Regions from separate parts of the Homo sapiens genome. Here regions 1, 2, 3, 4, 6 and 7 are each linked to region 5. The links are contacts of gene promoters, found by promoter capture Hi-C in blood cells and fetal thymus (Javierre and others, 2016). All regions are on one chromosome and are shown on one strand. Each heading gives the region's core, a stretch centred on a gene start or on the middle of the fragment in contact. The rest is flanking DNA. Distances are from core to core; before and after follow the strand shown. Region 1 has its middle 51 kb from the start of POC1B-GALNT4. Region 2 overlaps POC1B-AS1 (POC1B antisense RNA 1). Region 3 holds the start of DUSP6 (dual specificity phosphatase 6). Region 4 overlaps POC1B-DUSP6 (POC1B-DUSP6 readthrough). Region 5 holds the start of CEP290 (centrosomal protein 290). Region 6 overlaps POC1B-DUSP6 (POC1B-DUSP6 readthrough). Region 7 overlaps LOC105369890 (a long non-coding RNA gene).

Region 1 (3,691 bases), core at 1,165-3,664, 1.4 Mb before region 5:
TATTGTTTCTGTAATGGTAGAACTAAGAAAGTGAAATATTTTTGTTGCTATCAAATATGAAATAAGGAAACATTTAAAAGGATTTACTTTAAAAAGAAATTCTTGTCACTCTGGTCATCTTCACTCATATTTTACCTGCGTGACTCCATAGACATTTATGTGGAAATTGTAACCTCTTATAAAATTTTAGAGCCATAAGGAACCAGCATTTTGGACTAGACAGTCATACTTTTCCTGGTATAGACGAATGAGTTAAGACTAATCATGCCTTCCCTGGTATAGATGAGTGAGTTAAGATTTCTGAGAAATTATGACTTGCCCAAGATCCTAGTTAAAAATAAAGTTAGGGCTGAATCTAAATGTAGAGTGTTGTCTTTATATTAGGTATTTAGAAGTTTTATTTTTTTACCTTCATTTTTAAATAATGAAAATTAGTGTAAATTCTCTTTAGAGTAAACAAACCTTCCAACAACTCTTCCCTCTACAAAATACATATGTAACTCATGGCTTTCTAAAAGTAGATTTTTAGCACTTTCTGACAATTTCAAGAAACTTTTTAGCTTAATAAGCTTTAGTGTTGCCACAGTGTCTGTAGCAAATTTATTTAAAGAGACCATTGGAAAAGTATTGAATTTTGTGTTACTGGTTTTCCTTTTCTCAAAACTGAAGAACCTGGGCAGAACTTGTCCATTGAAAGCGACACAACCTTGACCCTTGGATCTGGAGATTTCTGGAAGTCATAAATTTGGTTTGGTCTATCAGGAAGAGACTTCACAGTGGCTCTCGATTGCCTGTGGAACTGGAAAACCCACAAATAATAGATTCACTTTTGTAGATAATTTCAATCTTCTCCAAAATTACTTAATGCAAATAACAAATGAGCAAATTATTTTGTTTTTGTGCTTTTTTTCTTCCCCTCTCTGGTTTCTGGAAAGGGAAACAGCCCAAATAAGTTGGAAAGCAGATAACATGGGTAATTGACAATTGGATCTGTACTAATTAAGTCGTTATTAGTATGTATAAAAATGTAAAGCTCTTTTGAGTCCAGGCGCGGTGGCTCACGCCTGTAATCCCAACACTTTGGGAGGCTGGAGCAGGCGGATCACCTGAGGTCAGGAGTTCAAAATCAGCCCAATCAACATGGAGGAACCCCGCCTCTACTAAAAATACAAAAATTAGCTGGGTGTGGTGGTGCATGCCTGTAATCCCAGCTACTCAGGAGACTGAGGCAGGAGAATCGCTTGAATCCAGGAGGCGAAGGTTGCAGTGAGTCGAGACCACGCCACTGCACTCCAGCCTGGGCAAAAGAGTGAGACTCTGTCTCAAAAATAAAATAAAATAAAATAAAATAAAATAAGATAAAGCTCTTTTGATATTTACCATGAGACTAATTGAATTCATTTGAAAATAGACCCAAAAGGAATTATAGCTAATAGCTTTACTTTAAAAACAACTTAGCTTTTTATGCTTTCTCTTTTGAAACATTGCTTTCAGCATTGAATTGGTAACCACTTTATATGGGAAATTTTGTGTTATATTTCTTATGAAACATTCCCAAATATAAATATCTTTGGTTTTTATTTCAGATTATAATAATAATCTGTGCTCACTATTAAGTTGGCAAAGTATATAATGACAAAGAAAACTACCATTAAGCATATCACACAGACTTAAAATTTTGGTGTATATATTTGGAAGCTTGTGTTCTCTGTGTGAATACCATCATTCATATCTAGCCAAACCATTGGAACTGTACACAGCTGGGGTTTCAGATATATAACATTCAGTTGATGGATTTAGGAATGGGCCACTGCAATTTAAATTGCAAGATGGGACAAGAAACACTTTTTTAAAAAGTTTGCATATATGAAGGTATAAGGCATGGGCCATCAATCTCTGACCAGGCTGGCTGAGAGGAAGAGAGCAAAGGATCTTGGTTCACAATGAGGCTGTCCCTGAGAAAGAAAGAAGTGAGAGTGAAAATGCTGTGTGATTAATGTCCTCAGCAACTGTATGGGAAGTCTGCCTTCTCCCCAAAAGGGCTATAAAATGAAACATAATAAGCAGTGGCCCAAGCCATTCTTCTGTGAGACCCCCAAAAGTGGAGAGAAGGACATAAACAGAGAAGCCATTTCTCCATCACTCAGAGAGAGGGAGATGATGTAGGCTAAATAGGAAGTGCATCAAATGACAATAGTCCCAAGGGGCAAGTGTGGAAGACCCAAGTTGAGTGGCAATGGCAAGGCAGTGTTGCAGTAACAAGCAGCCTTGTTACTCTAATAACTCAAAGTGATGCTTTGGATTCTCTTTCAGAAACCATTGCACATCTCCCCTACGCAGGGACTATGCTAGGCAGAAGGGAAACCAAGATGAAAAAGAATCCCCCATATGAACAATTATAATACCACACTACGTGCAATAATGATGTCAAACAGGGTATGTTAGAGGGTTAACTTCAACAAGCATGGGGACCCAGGGTTAAAGAATATCTAACAAAGTCCATGGGCAAGAACAGAGATGGATGAGGTTTTGCCATATGGGAAAAATAGGAACAGTCCATACTGAAAACAGCTGGTACAATGAAGCAGGAGAGATAATGATATTTCTTCATGATCTACAAACTCATAAGGTAAGCAGTAGTGCTGAATTCCCTACTCTTTCAGATTTATTGAATTACAGCTGTTTAAAATACAGTAAAAATCTCTCTAACACAAGCTAATGAGAAAGGCTTATCTGATTAACCAGATTCTTGGAGATAAGGGATTGTATTGCTTTTAGATATGTAAACATCATTTAAATGGAGAGAGTAGCTGTGTTTGATACTAATTTGGAAACTGACAATGAAACATTGGCTTATAAATGGGTGCTTTTGACATGTTGTTTTCTAACATTTAAACCTTTCCCCTTACAATCTTGATTATGCTGTAAATTTGCTAAGTTAACTTTCCTTTTGCTTTCATTCAAAGCAAAATCCTGAAAATGAATAATAAGTAGTGTGCTATTTTGTGCAAAATAATACTGATAACATTTTGGTTAGCAAAATGAAATAACATACCTGAAATAAATAATAATACCTAGTAAATTTGTACTCATGGGTCAATTTGATGACAGAAAGGAAAAGAAAGCTTAAAGATAAATATCTCTAAAGTTATGCTTTCAATGCCATCTGTACAAACTTCATGTCAAGATCTAACAGAAAAAAAAAAACAAAAAAAAACTCTGTCTTATGCCAACACAACTAATTCCATGAAGTTTGGATCATCACAAAACTCAAATGTTTTATGATTTCTTTTATCCATGTCTTTCAACTGTACAGTACATTTTACTGTATATACAGTTTTATGGAATGTGGAGGCAGCATCTGATGTAATATTTTCTGTTCAAATTGTTTACTTTGTAGTCAAACATTCTTCAAAAACATTTTAGTCTCCCCTCCCCTCACCCACTCTGATTTTACATTCAAGTCTGTCAGTTCCTATTTAGAAAGGTTAATTGAGACCTGGAGTCTCAAAGCCTCTGATACAGAAGCAACTTTTGCCGTCCTTAACAGATTTCTTTGAATTTGCTGCCAGGTCTGATTCTACATGTAAATATTTAAGTGAGTTAGTAAAATAAAAATAAAAATAAATAAAAAAACCTTTTTTTTAACAAGAGTGGGAAAGCAAGGATACTATAAAGTAATTTATGACAT
Region 2 (3,552 bases), core at 153-2,652, 1.4 Mb before region 5:
AGTACATTCAATTTCTGTTTTAGGGGGAACTGTATAAGAAGGGCTAATTAGAGGTCAGTTTGTCCTAGCTAGTACCCGGCCTCCAGTAAAACCTTGTAGGTTTTTAAATACTGATCCTGCTTGTGGCTCCCACCCACATAAATGATTAGGTTGCAGTCCAGAGAGGTCTAAATAATCATTGTAGCAAGTGGAATTAGGCTTGAGGTTAGAAAAAACTTCCCCAACTTTGACCACATTTCCAATTGTCTACCTCTGAGCTTTTGCTATTTGCAAAGGTGAAGAAAAGCCGAAAAGAACAAAATCAAATACTATGGAAAAGAACAATGGGAAGGGCAGTTTAGAGTAATAAATGAGGACAGTGGAATGAAAATAAAGGAGATATTACTTTCATTTTGTAAAACTTATTATTATAAACCTTGGCAAGAATGCAATGTTTTATACATTTACATAACACTTGCAATCACACAAAAGTCATGACAGTGATTAAGAGAGTGGATTCTGGGCCAGGTGAGGTGGCTCACACCTGTAATCCCAGCACTTTGGGAGGCCGAGACAGGCGGATCACGAGGTTAGGATATTGAGACCATCCTGGCTAACACGGTGAAAACCAGTCTCTATTAAAAAAAAAATACAAAAAAAATTAGCCGGGCTTGGTGGCGGGCGCCTGTAGTCCCAGCTGCTCGGGAGGCTGAGGCAGGGGAATGGCGTGAACCTGGGAGGCGGAGCAGCTTGCAGTGAGCCGAGATCGCGCCACTGCATTCCAGTCTGGGCGACAGAGTGAGACTCCGTCTCAAAAAAAAAAAAAAAAAAGAGAGAGTGGATTCTGGAGGCAGACTGCGAGTGTCTAAAAATCTCAACTCTGCCACTTCCTAGTTAGCAGTGTGCCTTGGGCAAGTAACTTAATGTCTTTGCATATCAATTTACTCATCTATAAAACGGAAATGGTAATAATAGCACATCTCTAATAAGATCGTTATGATCACTAAATGTCAAAATTTGTAAGGTACTTAGAAAAGTCCTGGCATGTAGTGAAAACATAGGTAGGTATATTAGTCCGTTCTCACATTGCTATGAAGAACTACCTGCGACTGGGTAATTTACAAAAAAAGCGGGTTTAATTGGCTCATGGTTCTGCAGGCTGTACAGGAAGTATGGCTGGGGAGGCCACAGGAAACTTACAAACATGGTGGAAGGCAAAGGGGAAGAGAGCATGGCTGCTCCATGGCTGGAGCAGGAGGAAGAGAGCAAAGGGGGAAGTGCTACACACTTTTAAACAACCAGATCTCGTGATAACTCACTCAGAACAGCAAGGGAGAAATCCACCCCCATGATCCAATCACCTCCCACCAGCCCCCTCCTCCAACACTGGGGATTACAATTCTACATGACAGTTGGGTGGGGACACAAATCCAAACCATATCAGTAGGTGACAAATTTTTTAAGATCAACTTTAGGTAATAGGATTAATATGTAGTTTCCCTCCCATCTTTTAAATTTAAAACATGTGTTTCTTGATAATTGAGAAAAAAAGTAAAAGCTAAACTTTTACTAAAACACTTAAATAAAAATCTATATTTTTTCTTCTTGTGAGCTAGTTTCTAAATCTCCAACTTCTTCCCTTTTCTGCTTCTCCTGTGCCCAATATTAGACGTAACATACCTATGAGTAATCCTGAGGTCCTGATTACTCTTCAGCTTCTGGCATTATTATTTTATTATTGGGGTGAAATACCTGTAATGAAATTTACCATTTTACCCATTTTTTAGGTGTACAATTCACTGGCATTAAGTACATTCACAATGTTGTGCAAACATCACCACTATCTATTTCCAGAACTTCATCATCCCAAACAGAAACTCTGCACCCATTAAACAGTAACTCCCCAGTCTCCCTTACCCCCAGCCCTAGTAACCTCTATTCTACTTTCTGTCCTTATGAATTCACCTATTCTAGGTACCTCATATGAATGGAATCATACAATATATGCTCATTTGTGTTTGGCTTATTCACTTAGCAAAATGTTTTCAAGGTTCATCCATGTTATAGCTTGTATCACAATTTCATTTCTTTTTATGGCAGGATAATATTTCCTTATATGTATATATCACATACATTTTGTTTATCCATTCATCTGTTGGATACTAGGATTGTATCCACTTTTTGGCTATTGTAAATAATGCTTGCTTTGAACACTGGCATCTGTTGGAGTCTCTGCTTTCAATACTTATGGGATATACCTAGCAGTGAAATTGCTGGATTATAAGGTAATTGTATGTTTAACTTTTTAGGAACTGACAAACTTTTTCACAGAGCTACATCATTTTACATTCCCACCAGTATCCAGCATTAGTTTTAAACATGGCAGGCTTTTAAAATAAATCAAGCCTAAACTGGTAATATGTAGCAAAACTAAGAGTCCTGCAACAGTTTGCTGACAAGTTGCTGATATCAACACTCTTAACATATCATCTCCTAGACTAATGCAGTGTTTCTCAACATAGACAGCTGAGACTCCCATAGTAATCATCTATGGAGCTTGTTACATCAGAAGGGCCCTGGATCCCACCTTGTATATGTTGATTCAGCATCTCTGGAAATGGAGCCCCCAAATCAACATTACAAATGCTAAAGCATGAGACTCACCAACCCTAGATTGCTGAGTTCTTGAAGGTAGGGGAAATATCTTAGTCATCATTGTGTCCCTCAAGGCCAAACATACAACAGATATTTAACAAGTGTATACTTAAATTAACTAATACTGTAATCTAAAGCCTACCTGTTTAGTTGTTAAGTACCATATTCAATAAAATTAAACTCAATCACTAGACAACTAGGGAATCTGTAATTAAGGTGTGTAGCATACCTTTCATTTGCATAAAACACATGTCTTACCAGCTGTGTTCTATCATGCCCTTTGATGTTGCTAAGGATCTTTACACTATATGTAATTTTCAGCTCAGAACATCACGCTTTGAGGCAGGGTTAAAAAAAAAAAAAGGATATGGACTTGGAATTAGAAGAACTGTCTCTGTGTGACCTCTAAGACCAATATCTAGGAATCAAGTTTATAACTTGGAAACATTGAAAACATTTTGTAATTCTACCAACTTCATTGTTTGGCTGAAGCACAAATGATACTATGTGTAACAAAGCCTGCTGTAGAAACGTGGTCTCACAAAAAACAAACAAAAAAAACCATGTTTCCAAGTCTTCCTAAAGACTTTAAGTATCCAGCTGTGTAAGTTTAGTGCTCTAAGGTATACGCAAATAAGCAGATGAGAATGGAAACATATCGCAGAAAATTATTAAGTGCATGCACAACATTTATTCATTCATTCACTCATTCATTCATCACGCACATCCAGCAACTATATCAATATCCTGCAGGGCACTGTGTGGAAAACAGTGGTTAAATAAATTCAAATCTGCCCTCAGGGGATTTAGTTCCTTTTAGTATATTAATAACTAGCAAGCTGCCCCTCTTCATGTCAAAGCTTTACGTCAACAAAATAAGCGGTAGGGGATCACCTTAAACGTCACGGGTGCTGTCTC
Region 3 (3,632 bases), core at 746-3,245, 1.2 Mb before region 5:
TGAAGCAGAGCTCCAAAATTGGCAACCTAGGCCTCGCAGCCGCCTTTTTTTAGCCTACATTTCCCAAACCAGGGAAGAGGCGGGTGACTAAAAATGCAAATTGCAGCGGGGGTGTTAGCAGGCATGCCCGTGGGTGCGGGGCGTCGGGCGAAGGGAGACCCCGCGACCTTAGGCGCCCTCGCGGTGTTCACGGTAGGCGCAAAGCGCAGCAAGGGACACTCCCCAAAGCCGCACCCCGCCGGACGGCTGCCCCCGCTTCCGCCTCTCAGGCAGCGGTGGGACAAAGCGCGGCCTCTTTTCCGCCGGGGTTTAGGGAGGGAAGGCCGGATTAGGGCCCGCGCCTTCCGGCTGCATCCCTCTCGCGCCGCGCCGGCCGCACACAGGTGGTTTTCCGCTCGGGAGGGGCAGGCTTCGGCACTTTTATATAACAATAGAGCTCTGCGCGCCGGGAACGCGCCTCCCCGCCGCCGCGGCCCCCACCCGGCCACGCCTCCATCCGGCTTCCAATCCGTCCGCCCCGCGGCGCCTGGGCCGAGTGCTGCTCGCTGGCCTGGCCCGCACCTCCCCAAAGTTACCTGCTGGCTTTGCAGCGCGGTAGAGACGTTCCCCTCGACTCCTTGGGAGCGAGGAGCCAGGGGGGTCCCGGCAGGCACTCGTCCTTGCTCCCCCCACCCTCCCCAGATCTCTATGGACCCGGGAGTCCCTCGCTGAGCCCCGCACCCGTCCACTGCGTCGCGCACAGCCCCGTGCCCAAGCGGGGAGACGGGGACGGCGGGGCGGTGGCAGGGAGCGCAGCGCGCAGGCGCGGCTGGTGCTCCCCGGAGTGCCCGGCGCTGGACAAAGGGAGGAGGCGGCGGCAGGAGAGGGCTGGGGAGGCCCCCTCTGACATGCCTCCCTGCCAACTGTAACCAATCGTCGAGCCCCCCTGCCGAGCCCCCGCAGCCTGCAGGTCTTGCGGGAGGACTTCCTCACGCCTCGCCCATGGCGGGGACTGCTGGCCCGGCCCGGCGCGTCCCAGCACACCTCGCTCAGGCAGCCCCGCCAGACCGGCTCCCCCGTCAGAAGCCGAGCTCCTTGCCCAGAAATCATTAACCAGCGCGACCTCCCAGCAGGCGATGGTGGTGGTGGGGCGGGGGGAGAGATATAGATTCCCCCGAACAATGGCTTGTAACTCCCCACGCCGCCGGAGCGGAATACAGTAAAAGCACTGGACTGACCTAAGAGTTTGTTTCTGCACTCTACATTGTTTTAATGAAAATAAAATGTTATTTTAAGAAAAAAGGTTTTCTTCTGATTTTCTGCACAACCAGACGTTTGTTTGTTTGCTTTAAAATGTTTCAACAAAATCCTGGTTTGTTTCGAAATATGTTGGATTAGCATTTAACACCTCATCGGTCACTAAAGCCCAGTCAGTTCACCAGCCCCAACACAGCCTCGGCTAAAAGAACATCAGAGCAAACAGAGCTGGGCCTTTAAAAGTGGCAAACAAATGCCACACACCGCCTAAAGAAGGGGGGTTGGGGGAGGGGAGGGTTAAGGCGAACTTGGGTCCAAATGAGTTTGAAGGGAATACAAAGAACGAAAAGTCAGCACAAGTTTTCCTAAAGCTAGCTCGCGAACGCAAGCGTCGCGAACAAGGGCTTTTGTGCATGCTAATTGCGCCATTGGTGCGCAAAAGTTCCGACGCGAAGTGTGAACTCTCAACAGAAGGAAACATGAGACAACTGAAGTGCCCTGGTTTATGTGCCCTGCTCCTCCTCCGCTGCCGCCTCCCCTTCTTTCTCCTTCCTCCCGCCGAGCCCGCTGTTGCAGCTTGTTTGCACTGGGGCTTATCCGGAGCGGAAATTCCTTTCCGTTTTTGTGAATGACAAACTCATTAACAATTCATCAACACAACCTGTTCCAGCCGGCCCGTCCCCACGGCAACAGCCCCTTCCGCAGCACGCTCATTGGCTGGCCCGGAGAATGTATCCATTGAGACGCTCGCTGTTTGTATCCATTGAGGAGCTGCCTCGCGCAGGGGGTGTGCGAGGCTGAGTCCAAGAGATAGCAAATCGAGTCTTAAATAATCCGGGGAGAAAGACGCCCGGGTAGATTTGAGGTGCAGCCTTGGAGGGAGGGATTAGAAGCCGCTAGACTTTTTTTCCTCCCCTCTCAGTAGCACGGAGTCCGAATTAATTGGATTTCATTCACTGGGGAGGAACAAAAACTATCTGGGCAGCTTCATTGAGAGAGATTCATTGACACTAAGAGCCAGCGGCTGCAGCTGGGTGCAGAGAGAACCTCCGGCTTTACTTCTGTCTCGTCTGCCCCAACCGCTAGCCTCGGCTTGGGTAAGGCGAGGCGGAATTAAACCCCGCTCCGAGAGCGGCAGCTTCGCGCGCGGTGCGCTCGGCCTATGCCTGCCCCGAGGGGCGTCTGGTAGGCACCCCGCCCTCTCCCGCAGCTCGACCCCCATGATAGATACGCTCAGACCCGTGCCCTTCGCGTCGGAAATGGCGATCAGCAAGACGGTGGCGTGGCTCAACGAGCAGCTGGAGCTGGGCAACGAGCGGCTGCTGCTGATGGACTGCCGGCCGCAGGAGCTATACGAGTCGTCGCACATCGAGTCGGCCATCAACGTGGCCATCCCGGGCATCATGCTGCGGCGCCTGCAGAAGGGTAACCTGCCGGTGCGCGCGCTCTTCACGCGCGGCGAGGACCGGGACCGCTTCACCCGGCGCTGTGGCACCGACACAGTGGTGCTCTACGACGAGAGCAGCAGCGACTGGAACGAGAATACGGGCGGCGAGTCGGTGCTCGGGCTGCTGCTCAAGAAGCTCAAGGACGAGGGCTGCCGGGCGTTCTACCTGGAAGGTACGCGCCCAGGGAACTCCGCGCGCGGGGCAGGGCTAGGGGCGCAGGGCTGCGGGCGGGGCGCGTGGATTGAAAATACCTCTGCTCCGCTCAGCTGGAGCTTCGGAGCCGCGCTGCCCGCCTAGGGACCGGCAGCCGGCGAGGTAGGGGCCGCGAACCGCGCGTTCCGCACCAGAGAACCGGGCCGGCTCAGAATCCACTCGCTTCCGGCTGCGGGTACCGGCGGTTTCTTTCTAACGGGTTCTGCGCCTTCTTAGCCAGAACATCCTCCACCATCACCCTGTTTTCTATCGTTCGATTTTGAATTAAGATTTGCAGGACGGGAGAGATTGTTGGGGATGCAAATTGGCACATCTTAGCTCTCAAAATATTCCAAAAAGTTGCCATTTTGTCTATTTCCGGATTCAAGCGAATAAGGGTTCCCTGGCGAGGCGGGCCCGTTCGTTCCATTCCCGATGGTGCACATTTAAAGTGTGTTTCTCTTATAGATGGTTCTGTATGTAGGGGGTTCGTAGGATGCTTGTGGTGTTTCTTGCGCCGGGCTGCGGTTCTTACAAGCTGTGAAAACTACTACGGCTTCTCAGGTTAGATGATTGCTTTTCTCGTTCTGGCAGGTGGCTTCAGTAAGTTCCAAGCCGAGTTCTCCCTGCATTGCGAGACCAATCTAGACGGCTCGTGTAGCAGCAGCTCGCCGCCGTTGCCAGTGCTGGGGCTCGGGGGCCTGCGGATCAGCTCTGACTCTTCCTCGGACATCGAGTCTGACCTTGACCGAGACC
Region 4 (3,382 bases), core at 629-3,128, 1.4 Mb before region 5:
TTTTGTGATATTCTTGTCAAAATTATATCTTCAATCTAATAAAATTAACAAACATGCTACCAAAATAACAAGCCTATAGTCTTCAAGAACATCAAGGTCAATAAAGACAAAGAGCAACCTAAGAACTCTTCTGTAATTTTTCTGTAAGCTTAAAATTATCAAAATAAAAATTTACCAAAAATAAGAGGGAAAAGGGAATGAGGCAGCTCTAGGTATTAACAAAACATTGTCTCCAACATATATCATGCTAAGTAGACTGAGGAAGCAAGATAGAGAGGCAAAATGCAGAATAGCAAGAATAATATACTACCATTTGTATAAAAAGCATATGAGAATAGACACACACATTTGTATAAGCACAAAGGATTCCCCAGAAATTAGTAATGCTGGTTGCTTCTGGGAAGGAGAACCAGGTTGCCAAGGACTAGAAGGAGATTTCATTAAATGCTGTTTTGTAATGTTGGAATTCTGTAATATTGGAATTCTGTTTCAGGTACACATATTACCAACTGAAAAGATACGTAAGATAATTTGTAAGAAACAAAAAACTGGAGACGGTAACATTTCTTTTCAGAAAATAGTGTTCCAGACAGAGCCTCTAAGTAACTGCAGCTGATTTTGGTCAAATCAATGAGTGAGAAAGCTTGAGTTGACTCAAGGAAGTTATTGGTACTTAAGGTGACACAAAGACGGGTGGCCATTTGGACATTGTGTGACAGACAAAGAGCAAACATGTTTTCCATTTGTTGTTCTTTGTTGTCACCTCCAGAGACAAAGCACTGACCTAGGTAAGCATGGGCTTTGTTCTTTCTTCTGCCAACAGGGATTTCTTGAAACAATGGATTATTGTTATAGAACATAAATAGTTTTTTTAAACTGGTAGATTACTAGTTAATGTTTTCCCTTAATTTCCTCCCTTTTGACATTTTATCTCGAAATAGACCCGTTGAAGATGAATGGTACAAGCTTTGACATTTTAAATTATGTGGTAATGTTTATATAGGGTGTGGTTTAATGGAAATGTATGAAAGCAAATTCCAAGTTGACACAGTACAACACTGACATCAATAACCAAATACATTTTATTATCATGGTATTAGGGTTTGGTAGGACAGTTCTTTCCTAAGAAAGAAGGTTAAGGAAGTAAAGAGGGAAATTCAATGTTGGTTTTCATAGTTTTTTTTTTTTTTTTTTTTTTTTTTGAGACAGGGCCTTGCTCTGTCTGGAGCAGGCTGGAGTGCAGTGGCGCAATCGTGGCTCAGTACAGCCTCTATCTCCCACCTCAGCCTCCCCCACCCCCACAGAGTAGCTGGGAATACAGGTGCAGGTCACCATGCCCAGCTAATTTTTTTGTTATTTTTTGTAGAGACGGGGTTTCGAGACGTTGCCCAGCTGGTCTCAGACTTCTGGGCTGAAGTGATCTGCTGCCTTGGGGGTCGTAATATGTTATATAATATGTATTAACTCCCTCCTATTTTCTTCTGACTCCATGCCTTTCTGGCTTTGATCCCACTTTCTTGAGGAAGAAAACACATGGACAAATTCTGATGTTAGGAATATTTTAAGTATATATCTTCAATATTATTTATCCAGGACCAAAGTAAGTCCTGATGCAGGAAATGAGTGAGTTTCACAGCTTTCTGAGCCCCTACTCGACCCAGGAAGCCCCGCTGGAACCTCCTCTCTCTTGGGCCCAGGGCCAGCTTTGTGGGCATACCTCCTGTACAGTTGCACAGGGCCCCATGCTTAGTTTAATGCTATGAAATTCTTAATTATTTTCCTATAAGAGCTTCACATTTACGTTTTGCACTAGGCCCTGCAAATTATGTAGCAGGTCCTGATCAGGCCTGATTTTACTAAACCTCATTTGACACACTTGTCACCCTCTTGGAATGCTCCTTCTCTTCCTGGACACCACAATGTCCTTGTTCCTCTCCTACTTCGTTTGTGGCTCCTTCCTTTGCTCTTCCTTATCTGAACGTTAAGTGTCCTCAACCTCTTCTTTATCTGTACTGATTTCCTCAGTGATCCCATCTAGTTTACAGTCTTTAGTACTTTCTCTAAGTTACTACTAACAGAGAAAACTTTAGCAATAATAGCTACATTTGAGTATTTTTCATGTGGCAGGCATAAATTGCAAGTACTATTTCCTTTAATACTTTTAACACCTCATTTTGCAAATGAAATGTCCTGGGCACAGAGAGGTGGAATAACTTGCCCAAGGGCACACAGCAGTAAGTGACAGCATGGATTTGAACACAGTGAGTCTAATTTCACAGGGTGTTCTTTTAACCACCACACTGTACAGTCAGAACCTCTCCCTGGGCTCCAGGCGGGGTATATCCATCTTCCTACTTGACATTTTCACTTGTATGTCTAATTGGCATCTCAAAACTACTATGTCCACCCCAACCTGTATCACTTCAGATCTCCTTTTCTGGTCTTTCTCATCTCATTAAATGGCACTAAAACTCACTTCAGTGCCCAGGCCAAAATTCTAGCATCTTCTCTTTTTCTCTCCCTCACATCTAGTCATTAGCAAGTCTCATAGACCCTACAGTATATCTTGATTTTGACTCTTTTTCCTCCTTCCAAGGCTCGCAGTCTAGTCCAGACCACTGCTTTCTCCTGACTGCGTGATTGCAGTAGCCTCCTAATAGATCTGTCCCTTGCCCCTTGTAGCTTCTCCACACAACAGCTAGAGTGATGTTTTCTGCTTTTTCCTAAATGTTTTATTGAAGCATTGATATGTTCCAAAAATTGCACAAATCATATAACTGTAAAGCTTGATGAATATTTAGAATGTGACCTGCTTATTTAACCAAAACCCAGAGTGAGAAGCATAACATTACCAGCATCTCCGGAAGTCCCCTCTTGTGTTCCCTTCCAGCCACTATACTCCCTCCCTGCCATCCACATAATCACTATGTTTGCTTCTAACTTCATAGGTTAATTTTGCTTCTTCTTAAACTTCATATAAGTAAAATTTAACACAGTGGGTATGCAACATGAATATATCACAATTTATGTATTCATTTTACTTGGATAGTTGGGCTTCTAGCTTTGATCTATTGTGAATAGTATTGCCACAAACATTGCACATGTCTTTTGCTAACCATACATAAGAATTTCTGTGGGTATATTCCTAGAAGTGGAATTGCTGAATCAAATACTAAGTATATATTCAGCTTCAATAGATATTTCAAAATAGATTTTCAAAGTGGTTATAACCACTAGTAGTATATGAACATTCCAGTTGTTCTACATCCTCACCAAGATTTGGTGTTATTTATCTTTTTCATTGTAATCATTCTGATGAGTGTGCACGGATATCTCATTGTGGTTTTAATTTACGTTTTCGTGATGACTAATGGAATTGAGC
Region 5 (3,614 bases), core at 1,115-3,614:
AAGTGAATACATAAAAATAAGTTATAACGAATGAAAAAAAAAACAGAAGAAAAGGTGTTAGAGAAAACAGACTTCTATTATGAAAACAAACACGCAGTAGTCAGCATAGTGTATGACATAACATGTGCTCAGTAACTATTAAATTTCATTCCTACCATTGTCAGAGGTATTTGAATCACAACAACTCCATCTTGAATAGGGGCTGGGTAAAATAAGGGTGAGACCTACTGGGCTGCATTCTCAGGATGTCTGTCAGTCATTCTAAGTCACAGGATGAGATAGGAGGTGGGCACAAGATACTGATCATAAAGACTTTGCTGATAAAACAGCATGCAGTAAAGAAGCCAGCCAAATCCCACCAAATCCAAGATGGCGAGAAAGGTGGGACGTCTGCTCGTTCTCACTGCTCATTATACACTAATTATAATGCATTAGCATCCTAAAAGACACTCCCACCAGTGCTATGACAGTTTACAGATGCCATGGCAATGTGAAGAAGTTACTCTATATAGTCTAAAAAGGGGAGGAACACTCAGATCTAGGAATGGCCTACCCTCTTCCCAGAAAACTCATGAATAACCCACCCCTTGTTTAGCATATAATCAAGAAATAACTATAACAATCCTTAGTCTACCACCTCCAATGGGGGTGTATGCACCTCCAATTCTTTCTTGGCGAGATCCAGGAGCCCTCTCCTGGGGTCCAGATCAGAACACCTTTCCAGAAACACCATCCCATGTTAAATTATGAATTAAGAACACTGAACATGAAGAATGTTTAATTCAAATTATTGAGTAAACACTTACAAAATTAAAATATAACATTTAATAAAAATAGCAAGATTGAGGAACAAGCACTTCACAAATATTGGTTTCCCAGAATGTCTGAGGAGGTGTATAGAAGTTAAGAATATGTCCTCCAGCCAGAGAGATCTGTGTTCAATCACACTATTTAAGTTACTTAGCTTCTCCAAGCCTCAGTTTCTTAACTCAGATGGAAAATGAGGACAATGTAAGCACCTATTTCACTGGATTGTAAGGAAGAATAAACAAGATAATGAATAGTATTTGGCATATAATCTTTCAGAAAAGTAGTAAAATTGTCATTCCTATAAATCTAACTAATGTCTTTAAAATTCATCTCACAAAATCAGTATCTTTTTATTTTGTACTGAGCTACTTATTTTACCCAAATTGGGGGTTTAAAAAGAAACTCATTACTTATTTTCGAAAGGAAAATTTACTGTCAAGTACAGTAATTTTTTTTTTAAAGCAGCGTTTAAAAAAAAAAAAAGACAAAGCACTGGTCCAGATAGTTGGAAATGTCATTTAGATTTAAGTCTACAGCTTCTTAGGAAAGTTAGGTAGAGATGTATCATACTCCAGCATGATTGTGAGCAGACGAGCAGGATGAGCAAAACTTGCACGAGTAAGAGTGGTAAACACCAGAGAAGGCGCTTTCATGGAAGGGCACCCTAGGTAACCAAGCAAGTGGCAACAATAGTACAGGTGAGTCCTTGGATCCCTTCTCTCTCCACCCCCGGCAGTGGTCCGGACAAGTACTAACCTCTCCTCTCTAGAGCCTTGACTTTATACTAGCTCCACAACCATCAAGCCCCACGATCCGCGAAAGGAATGGTGCTACAGGTAAGGCGGGCGGGGTCGGGATGCCGAGACCTCTTGTCAATTCTTCGCTCGCCCCCAAACGAGGATCACGGCTGCGCGGCTCTCACTCTAACTATCAAGACAGATTCTGATACTAAACAAGGCTAAAACTTTTTGTTTTTTCCTTCTTACAGAAGGCACTACCCTGGACGCCGCTTGCAAACGCCTGAAGAGAAGGCAGGGTGTTCCCACTTTTTCAGAATGGGACCAGGCCCTACGGCCCCAATAGCAGAAGCTTCTCTAACCCAGGACTGCTCCCCTCAATTCCTCCCAATATGCTGACCGACAGCTCGACCTCACCTGGGGGCGGTTCCGCCAGGGGATGGCTTAGGAAAACCTCAGGAAGAGCAGCCCAGCGAGTGACGCCACTGAAACCACAGTCATGGTCTACCTCGTTCAGGCCACCAGTTTGCAGGCGCCTGAGCCGCTGCTCCTCCCGCCTCTCGGTCCTTCCCCGCCGCCCCGGTACCGTCGCAGTCTTACGCGTTGCATGCCGGGAGCGCCTTACCTCCTCTTCTCAGGGACTTCAGTTCCCAGCATGCAGAAGCCTCAGGCAGAACTGCACTCTGGGATTTGAAGTCCTCGTTCCACGCCTTCTCATCATCCTGAACACCGAGCTCTGGGACTCCGGCGGAGAATCTAAACGTAAAGCATCACCCACGGTCGTGAACTGTAGGCTCTCCTGGCATCCGGGATCTTATTCTGGCCTTGGCGGAGTTGGGGATGGTGTCGCCTAGCAGCCGCTGCCGCTTTGGCTTGCTCGGGACCATTTGGCTGGACCCAGAGTCCGCGTGGAACCGCGATAGGGATCTGTCAGGGCCCGCGGCCGGGTCCAGCTTGGTGGTTGCGGTAGTGAGAGGCCTCCGCTGGTTGCCAGGCTTGGTCTAGGTGGGTGGATCCTTGTAAGCAGGATTAGCGAGTCACTCCACGCTCAGGTTCTTTAGCCTGAGGGCCCGTGTGCCACAGCATAGCTACCCCGCCCTTCCAGCCTCGGGTCCCTAATACTGCCTTGCTTCGGTTCCAGTTTCCGCCGCACAACTTCACTCATTCCAAATGTTAATTTCTGCGTTTTTTTTCAGCCCCAATTCTGTTTCTCCAAATCAGGGATGATTGTCGGCCTTCCACAGACCCTCGCGCTTGCCAGGATTAGGGTGTTCGCGCGCATTGTGGGTAGGGGTGTGGAGGAAGGGATCCAGAAATCTTAAGTATTAACTTAGATTAGTGTTAGCAAGGAAGCCGTCACATTTTATTTAGCCGGGACACTCTGACAGTTTGTGCCGACTGCTATTTTTGATCAAGGCTATTTTGCCCACTTGTCTATTTTGTGGCCCAATTGTCTGTTTTGCTAACATCAGAAAGTTATAATGAAATAATCTGCAAAAAATGTAAGGTGCTAGAAAACCAATAATACTGTGTACCTTGAAAATGCTAATATACACCTGTTTTGTTACAGAGGTGGAGCACAGTGAAAGAATTCAAGATGCCACCTAATATAAACTGGAAAGAAATAATGAAAGTTGACCCAGATGACCTGCCCCGTCAAGAAGAACTGGCAGATAATTTATTGATTTCCTTATCCAAGGTGCTTAATTGGTCAATAATAATAGATATATACATTAACTTATGATTAATTTATTAATAAAATATGAATTTATTTTTTTCAGGGACAACTATAATTGTCACAATCTGGAAGTGTTCTTATATTTTGCTTGAAGGTTATAAAATATAAAACAGTTGCTTTTCTGTTTACTTAGGTGGAAGTAAATGAGCTAAAAAGTGAAAAGCAAGAAAATGTGATACACCTTTTCAGAATTACTCAGTCACTAATGAAGGTTTGTATGTAGTAGGTTTTAACTATAGGTTTGGCTATTAGTGGAACTATAAAAATCTGTTCTTATATAAGGTAATCTTTGTGAAAATACCTGGTAATATCTACATCACCACTAAAAA
Region 6 (3,181 bases), core at 271-2,770, 1.3 Mb before region 5:
AAATTTGGCATGATGTTTAGCCTGATTCCTGTAGCTGAGGTATTAGTGGAGTGATGGTGGCTGATATAGTTTTCATTTTCTAATAACAAGAAGGAATATTATCAAGTTGTTCATGTAAGGGAAAATTTTTTATGGAAGTAAATTATAGGAGATACTTTATTCGTTGTCGTTGTATTGAATCATCTATATATAAGTCTTTTATCAAAGGGTAATCGTAATGTAAGACAATTTATGAAAAGTCCCAATAATGTGAAATTTGGTCTTCAAAATATTACTTTAATAAGTATAGTCACTGCCCTGTACCATATAGCTATATTAAGTATGTAGAGATGAAAGACACAGTCTTGGCCTCAGGGAGCCGACAGTTACTTCAGTGGGGAAACATGATACTAAATAGTTATAAAATGGTGTGTCCTAAGGGAAAAAGTGGCACAAAAGATGATAAGGGAGTAATAAATAAGTGAGAATTGAACAAGATTTGTGTGAGGAAAAGTCAAGAAAGCCGTTTCAGTCCCAGAGCTGAGGGGAGAGAAGGGGAAGAGGAGGCAGTGGCATATTTGTCAGGTGCGAAGAGGGAAGGCAAGCTGTCTTCATGAGGGAGCCAGGAGGAGCAAAGCACTGTGGCCTGCAGGTACATAGTGTGCTCCAGGAACATTAATTATTCAGCTGTGGTCAGAACACAGGGAGCATATGGGACAAAACTATCCAATATTCATATGCCTGCCTGCACCATAGCATCACCCTGGAGCAAGTTAGCTCCCTGCTCTCAGCCTCTGTGGAACTTGAGGGTATTGAGGCTTCTCTCACTGGACTGAGGATAAGAAGTACCAGTTGACGGTGTTTGGGACTGAGTGATGCCATAAGACTACCTCTCTTCCAGCTGGGTGCTATTTAGGGAGAAACTCTGGAACCGGGGAGGAGTCACTGAAAATGTTCTTCCCCTTTATCAATTTGAGAGAAGAAAACGATGGTGGAACTCTGCACTTCTGTCTGCCTATTCCCTGTTTTCTGGTAGCAGTGCTCAAGCTTGCCCTGAGGAACCAGCTTGCCCCCTTGTCCTCTCCGTGTCATGTGCAGGAGTGCAGGAGTGGCCCTATCTCCAGTTCCAGAGCGGACAGTCAGCTCAGGCTCGCCCACGGAAACATAGCATCCCCTCCTGGAGGAGTGAGTCTTGTTGGAACCATGGGCCTTTCCTCTTGGTTGGCAGTGTTTAGGCTTATTTAAGCCTGTGACTGCTGAGGGACACCCTGGGCAAAGAACTGACCTAAAAATAATATTAATTCAGAAGAGAGCAGAGCTGTGAGATGAAGACAGAATGAATTTCTGTCTAATCATATGATTTGGTTTCTGGATACAGCCATACCTGAAAGTATTATAGAGAGTGTGTGTATGTGTGTCTGTGTGTGTGTGTGTGTCTGTGTGTGTGTGAGAGAGAGAGAGAGAGAAAGAGAGAGTTTTTAAAAATTGCCTTTTCCTTTTTTGTTTTATCCTAAAAAAGATGCTTTCCATAGGAAGTGATACTGGAGCAGAGTTTTGAAAAGTGAAATCTTCTTACCCGGTCAAGACATTCATTTTAGCTCCATCCTCAACGCAGCTGCTGTAGTTTTAGCACCATTGGCCTTTGTGCAGACTGTTGCAGGAATCTCCTAAATGGTCTCTCAGACCACAGATTACCTCCTCCCACCCTCCACCCCTGCATCTCTGCTTTTGTGAAAAACAAATCTAGTCATGCTGTTTCTTGCCTTAAAACCCCTCAGTGACTCCTTGTCCTGGCGTGTGTGTGCACTGCCCTCCTATCTTTCTTTTGTCACTTTCTGTCTTTCTTCTGTCACTTTCACCATTCACCTTCTTGCAGCCAGACAAGTCTCCTCAAGTGTGAATGACCCTTTTTGCCTTGTGCCTTTCCATATGGTGATTTCCATGCTGGGACGCCCCCTGCTTCCACCCTTCCTTCACAACCTGCTCTGCATCTCTTCCTCCAAGAAAGGTTTCTGCTTCTCCTGGGCCAAGCTTATTGTGACTCCTTTATGCCACCACATTGCCCTTCTTATGAGGTCTGTTTATCAGCTTAGGCCTCTCTTCCCTATTAGACTTCGAATTACAAGTATTTATGTTGTATTCTCTTGCCAGGCACTGTTGTAAATTGTATGAATACAGCAGAAAATAAAACACAAAATTCCTACTCTCGTGGAGCTTCCTTTACTGAAGAGAGACAGACAGCAAATATATTAGTGATAAGTACTCTGGAGAAAAATGATGTAGGGGGTAACAAGATGAAGAGTGGTGGGTTTGGGAGGTGGTCTTTTACATATCGAGGTCAGGGAAGGCATATTTACCAAGGTGACGTTTGAGCCAAGACTTGACTATATTGTGGAAGTTAGTAAGGTCGGTGTCAGGAGAGTGTTCAAGATAGGTCAGATATGATCTGAGAAGCACTGTAGAGTATCAGCTACAGGGTGGGAAAGGGTCAGGGGTTGTGCAAAAATATGGTTGAATCAATCAGTGAAAGGTTGGTGAGTAGGCTTAGGTTTATCTCTAAAGCAAAGGTAATTTTCATGGATTTCTTCAGAGAAGAGTTATTTTTGTGAATCTTTTCTAGCAAATCCAGGAGTACTGGTGCATGCATGTTTTACATGGAGATGTTTATGTGGCTTCACTGCTTTCTTTGTCCATTTTGGTTGACTCTTGTTCAATTGGCCAGTTGCTGACTTGGCACACCTGGCCTTCATGGACTGTCTTTATCTTACCGGTACCTTAAGGTTCTGAGGGATTTTTTTTAAAAAATCAGTTTTCTTACTGTTTGGAGTGAATGATTAATGTGAAACTCTGCAGAGGCCGTCCTCAAGGAATGTTCTTTGATGAATAAGTTGGTTAAATTTAATGAATAAGGATTTCATCTTCTTGGCAACTTTTTATTTATGTACACTACAACATGCTTACAGATTCTTTCTCATGCATGTATTATAATATATCTTCTTGGCTTACCTTATTGCAGTTAGAACAAGAGAGTTTAGACCAATGTCTGGAGGGCCTGATTGACCACCAAGGCCCAGCCTCCCAGAGTGTTTTGTGCATCTTCCCATGAGAACTTAACCTTGATGAAATCATTCTAATCCAGGACTCTCAAAGATGTGCAGGACTAGAAGTCCTATTTTCACTCTATACCTGAAGGTGAGAAAGC
Region 7 (3,430 bases), core at 536-3,035, 1.8 Mb before region 5:
TTATTTACAATTGAGTAGATGTTTGTCCCTGATTGAAGGATGAGGAAAGGGTTTCTGTACATAACAAACATAATGTTATTCCTTTTCTTTATTTTTTAATGAATGAAACAGCCTCAGAATTATACTTTGGCTATCAAATATATTCTAACATTTATTCTATAGCAGTTGGACAGTTAAATGAGCATACAAAAGTACCAGAATGTTACCAAAAATGTTCCTCTTATCAACTCCTCCATAAACTATCATCATCAACTGGTAATCATATTATTTTCTAATTATTAAACTTGTACAGTAATCAAAGGACCCCTTTGGGTATTTACATGCTCTATCTTTATTCCTCTTTCTTTTATAATCTTCTTTCTATCTCTAGCCCTCCGTGAAGCACTTTATCAGATAATAAGAAAATCACTCTCCCACATAAAATAATTATTTTTAAAAACTATGGCAAAGTTAATGATCCTTATTTGCTCTGTCAGATCCCTTACACTAGAACTATATTTTGTCTGTTTTGCACAGTACTTTTGCCAAGCACACAGGGGAGTTGAAGAGACAGTAGTTGATGGTAATTATCATGCACCCTTTGTTTGTTCACAAGGGACATTTGCTGAAGATTAAAAATAAATTCACAACTAATTGACTGTCAGCCATAAGCTATACTGCTGGGACTTCCAAACTACCAACTGAAAAGAAAACAACTGAGCAAATCTTGCCAAGGCCCAACTCAAAGATTAAAAACAGCCTCCCTATTTAACTTGCCTACAGCACAACTCATCAGATGAAAGGTAACTTCAGTAGTTCTGCAATTCCCTTCCCCAAAGAGCCCACTTTGGGAAATAAACCTTTAATTACAAATGCTATACGGCCGGGCGCGGTGGCTCACGCCTGTAATCCCAGCACTTTGGGAGGCCGAGGCGGGCGGATCACGAGGTCAGGAGATCGAGACCATCCCGGCTAAAAACGGTGAAACCCCGTCTCTACTAAAAATACAAAAAATTAGCCGGGCGTAGTGGCGGGCGCCTGTAGTCCCAGCTACTTGGGAGGCTGAGGCAGGAGAATGGCGTGAACCCGGGAGGTGGAGCTTGCAATGACCCGAGATCCCGCCACTGCACTCCAGCCTGGGCAACAGAGCGAGACTCCGTCTCAAAAAAAAAAAAAAAAAAAAAAAAAAAAATGCTATAACTGGGCCTGCTAAGCTGCCCCTTTCAAGCCACCAATGAGCAGTTATCTACTGAGCACTACCTATTTGCCTGGTACTTGTAGACTCTGAGAATACAATGATAAATAAGATATTCACAACTCTTTCCTCTGTGGTATTCAACCCCAGCAAGGAAGGAGTATAGTTAGAAACTTTACTTAGTGAAAGAAAGATGAGGAAGACAGTAATGACGCATTCCAATGGCAAACACACCTCTACTTCTTAGTTTTATTTCTTTGTCACACCTACCTCAAGTTGAAGGCAGCAATCTTTATAGTTCTATACCTCATGCATGAAAGACAATCCAGGAAACCTTAAAAATTGTCTGTCCCAATGAACCATGACCCACAATGGTATAAGAACATCGACAAAATATGAACAACAATGGTAAAATATAATCAACTCACTAATGAGTCATGTGCATGATCCGGAGGCACAGGTAAGACAAGACTGGTTTATTTAAGGGCTTAGTTCTCCTTTGGAAATGGAGCTAATCTTGTCAGAATAGCAGTTGAGCTATTCCTCTCTCCTTTCCCTATCCATCTTTCCCCCTCCCAGATCTTCTCTCTTTTTTTTCCCCCTTTGGCTTCCTATCTGCATCTACCTTCTTTCTTTCACAAAGCCTGACTCCATAGATGATGGTTGTATGATAGGCATTGTTAATGTCCACCAATTTCTAATTATTTACTTTTGGTTAGAAAGGAGATTACATTTCCATGTTCCCTTGAAGTTAGATGCTGCCATGTGACTCATTTTGCCCAAAGGCATGTGAATGACACTCTGGACTAAGGCTTCTATGGCTTGTGTTTGACTTGCCAGCTCTTTCTCATCCCCTGCTGGGGTGAACCCTGAAGCCTGACGTCATTAGATGGCAGTGTCATAAAATGACAGAGTCTCCTTCAGCCTTACTCCGTATGTGACAGTGATAAGCAAAGCTCTCCCTGACACCATGAATGAGAAATAACCTGAAATTTTAGAGTTGTTATCACAGGATAACCTACACTATTCTGACACAAGTAAAAGAAGAAAGATACTAACCAGCACATGCAGTCATAAGGATGTTGGCAACAGGATTCATTTAGCACACATTTACTGAATTGGCATGTAAGTGAAAGAATCCAACATGAGAAAATAGAGAAAAGATAAAGTTGTTGCCCTCAAAGAGAGGGCAAAAAAAGAAAAAAAATTGACAAATGTAAAAACAATTATGGTAGAATTTTACATATATATTTTTTAAATCAGTCAAATATGGTAAGGAAAAGTTTGGGAAATCTTTGTCTAAAGAGCGTGCAGCTGGAAGCTAGGAGTCCAGTCCTGCCATGTTTTTGTAAGTCATTACCATTGTTATCATCATCAACCTATTTATTATTACAGAGCATGTGTGACTTCAGGCAAGACACTAAACTCTTTTTTTGCATCTTTAAAGTAGAGGGAAAATACTATTTCTCTTTTTTAGATTACTGAAATGTGATTAATACCCAAGAGGATAGAATGTCTATGTACTCTGAATTCTTAAGACAAAACAACATCTCAGGCAGAGTGTTTAGTGAAAAGCCCCTGGCTGAGGTTTCAATACTTGTGTACAATTGAGCAAAAGTCAGAAAGCCTTGGTCTTTTTATATCTCAGCCAAAGGTGTCTACTGAGCTTTCACTGTGTGCCAGCTACCATGCCAGGCTCTAGAGATGGGCCAGTGAACAAGGCATTGTGCTTGTCTCACTCTAAAAACTGGCAGAGAACATGAACATTAAACTTTAAGTATTATGATCATTAATTGCATAATTACAAACGTTCTAAGAGCTCCACAGGATTCCACTGGACCATTTGACTGAGAGACCTAAGTGGCTTATCAGGGATGGCTGATAAACTGAGTTTGGAAGAATCTGTAAAATTAGTATCACAATGTACTTTTAAGGTGGCTATAATGGTTTTTAAAACTAAATGTAAAATTTTGGCAAATAGTTGGTTCTCAATAGATGTTAGTTATTGAACAGTGTCATAGAAATCTGTGCATATGTAATCAAAGGCAAAGTTCTAAAAGGAAAGAAAAAGGCCGCAGCTTTTACCACATATTAATCCATATGCTACTGCTATCATTATCACAATCAATATTAACACATCGCACTGAGCTGTTTCATAATTGTATTTCTATGTTTCCCCTGACAACTCTTAATTCAACCGCTAGGGAAGCCCCTGTCTTCCTGTCTGCCTTGTTTTGGTTTTGTTTCATGTACCTT

What was found. Contacts are between HindIII fragments. The CHiCAGO score rates a contact against its expected background, and 5 or more counts as called.
Region 1: a contact is called between a fragment that was not itself captured here and the fragment with the promoter of CEP290 in region 5, in 1 of 17 cell types (naive B cells). The highest score is 6.0, in naive B cells.
Region 2: a contact is called between a fragment that was not itself captured here and the fragment with the promoter of CEP290 in region 5, in 13 of 17 cell types (naive CD8 T cells, total CD4 T cells, naive CD4 T cells and 10 more). The highest score is 22.8, in naive CD8 T cells.
Region 3: the fragment with the promoter of DUSP6 here is called in contact with the fragment with the promoter of CEP290 in region 5 in 1 of 17 cell types (total CD4 T cells); the score reaches 5.4 in total CD4 T cells.
Region 4: a fragment that was not itself captured here is called in contact with the fragment with the promoter of CEP290 in region 5 in 1 of 17 cell types (naive CD8 T cells); the score reaches 5.1 in naive CD8 T cells.
Region 6: a contact is called between a fragment that was not itself captured here and the fragment with the promoter of CEP290 in region 5, in 1 of 17 cell types (activated CD4 T cells). The highest score is 6.5, in activated CD4 T cells.
Region 7: a contact is called between a fragment that was not itself captured here and the fragment with the promoter of CEP290 in region 5, in 1 of 17 cell types (non-activated CD4 T cells). The highest score is 5.4, in non-activated CD4 T cells.

What each region holds. Positions count from the first base shown.
Region 1 is chr12:89,575,278-89,578,968 of GRCh38, reverse strand. No RefSeq gene overlaps it. Among named protein-coding and RNA genes, the nearest start is that of POC1B-GALNT4, 51 kb to the right of the region's middle. The HindIII fragment of the contact is 1,427 bases long and covers 1,701-3,127 here.
Region 2 is chr12:89,526,290-89,529,841 of GRCh38, reverse strand. The region is part of intron 1 of POC1B-AS1 (POC1B antisense RNA 1); the gene reads right to left. Among named protein-coding and RNA genes, the nearest start is that of POC1B-GALNT4, 1.8 kb to the right of the region's middle. The HindIII fragment of the contact is 4,188 bases long and covers 1-3,496 here.
Region 3 is chr12:89,350,864-89,354,495 of GRCh38, reverse strand. DUSP6 (dual specificity phosphatase 6) reads left to right here and starts at 1,995. Exons shown (of 3, transcript NM_001946.4): 1 at 1,995-2,856; 2 at 3,471-3,632. The coding sequence starts at 2,457. It overlaps POC1B-DUSP6 (POC1B-DUSP6 readthrough), which reads left to right. Exons shown (of 11, transcript NR_189589.1): 10 at 3,471-3,632. RefSeq lists a silencer at 740-1,049 and an enhancer at 2,869-3,503. The HindIII fragment of the contact is 9,767 bases long and covers 1-3,632 here.
Region 4 is chr12:89,505,087-89,508,468 of GRCh38, reverse strand. The region is part of intron 2 of POC1B-DUSP6 (POC1B-DUSP6 readthrough); the gene reads left to right. The region is part of intron 2 of POC1B (POC1 centriolar protein B); the gene reads left to right. Among named protein-coding and RNA genes, the nearest start is that of GALNT4, 18 kb to the left of the region's middle. The HindIII fragment of the contact is 1,819 bases long and covers 969-2,787 here.
Region 5 is chr12:88,140,838-88,144,451 of GRCh38, reverse strand. It overlaps CEP290 (centrosomal protein 290), which reads left to right and starts at 2,364. Exons shown (of 54, transcript NM_025114.4): 1 at 2,364-2,552; 2 at 3,118-3,246; 3 at 3,419-3,496. The coding sequence starts at 3,145. TMTC3 (transmembrane O-mannosyltransferase targeting cadherins 3) reads right to left here and starts at 2,145. Exons shown (of 14, transcript NM_181783.4): 1 at 1,965-2,145. RefSeq lists enhancers at 1,775-2,278, 2,085-2,524. The HindIII fragment of the contact is 8,380 bases long and covers 1,902-3,614 here.
Region 6 is chr12:89,485,151-89,488,331 of GRCh38, reverse strand. The region is part of intron 4 of POC1B-DUSP6 (POC1B-DUSP6 readthrough); the gene reads left to right. The region is part of intron 4 of POC1B (POC1 centriolar protein B); the gene reads left to right. Among named protein-coding and RNA genes, the nearest start is that of GALNT4, 38 kb to the left of the region's middle. The HindIII fragment of the contact is 984 bases long and covers 1,029-2,012 here.
Region 7 is chr12:89,950,025-89,953,454 of GRCh38, reverse strand. The region is part of intron 6 of LOC105369890 (a long non-coding RNA gene); the gene reads right to left. Among named protein-coding and RNA genes, the nearest start is that of LINC02399, 4.0 kb to the right of the region's middle. The HindIII fragment of the contact is 3,706 bases long and covers 1-3,430 here.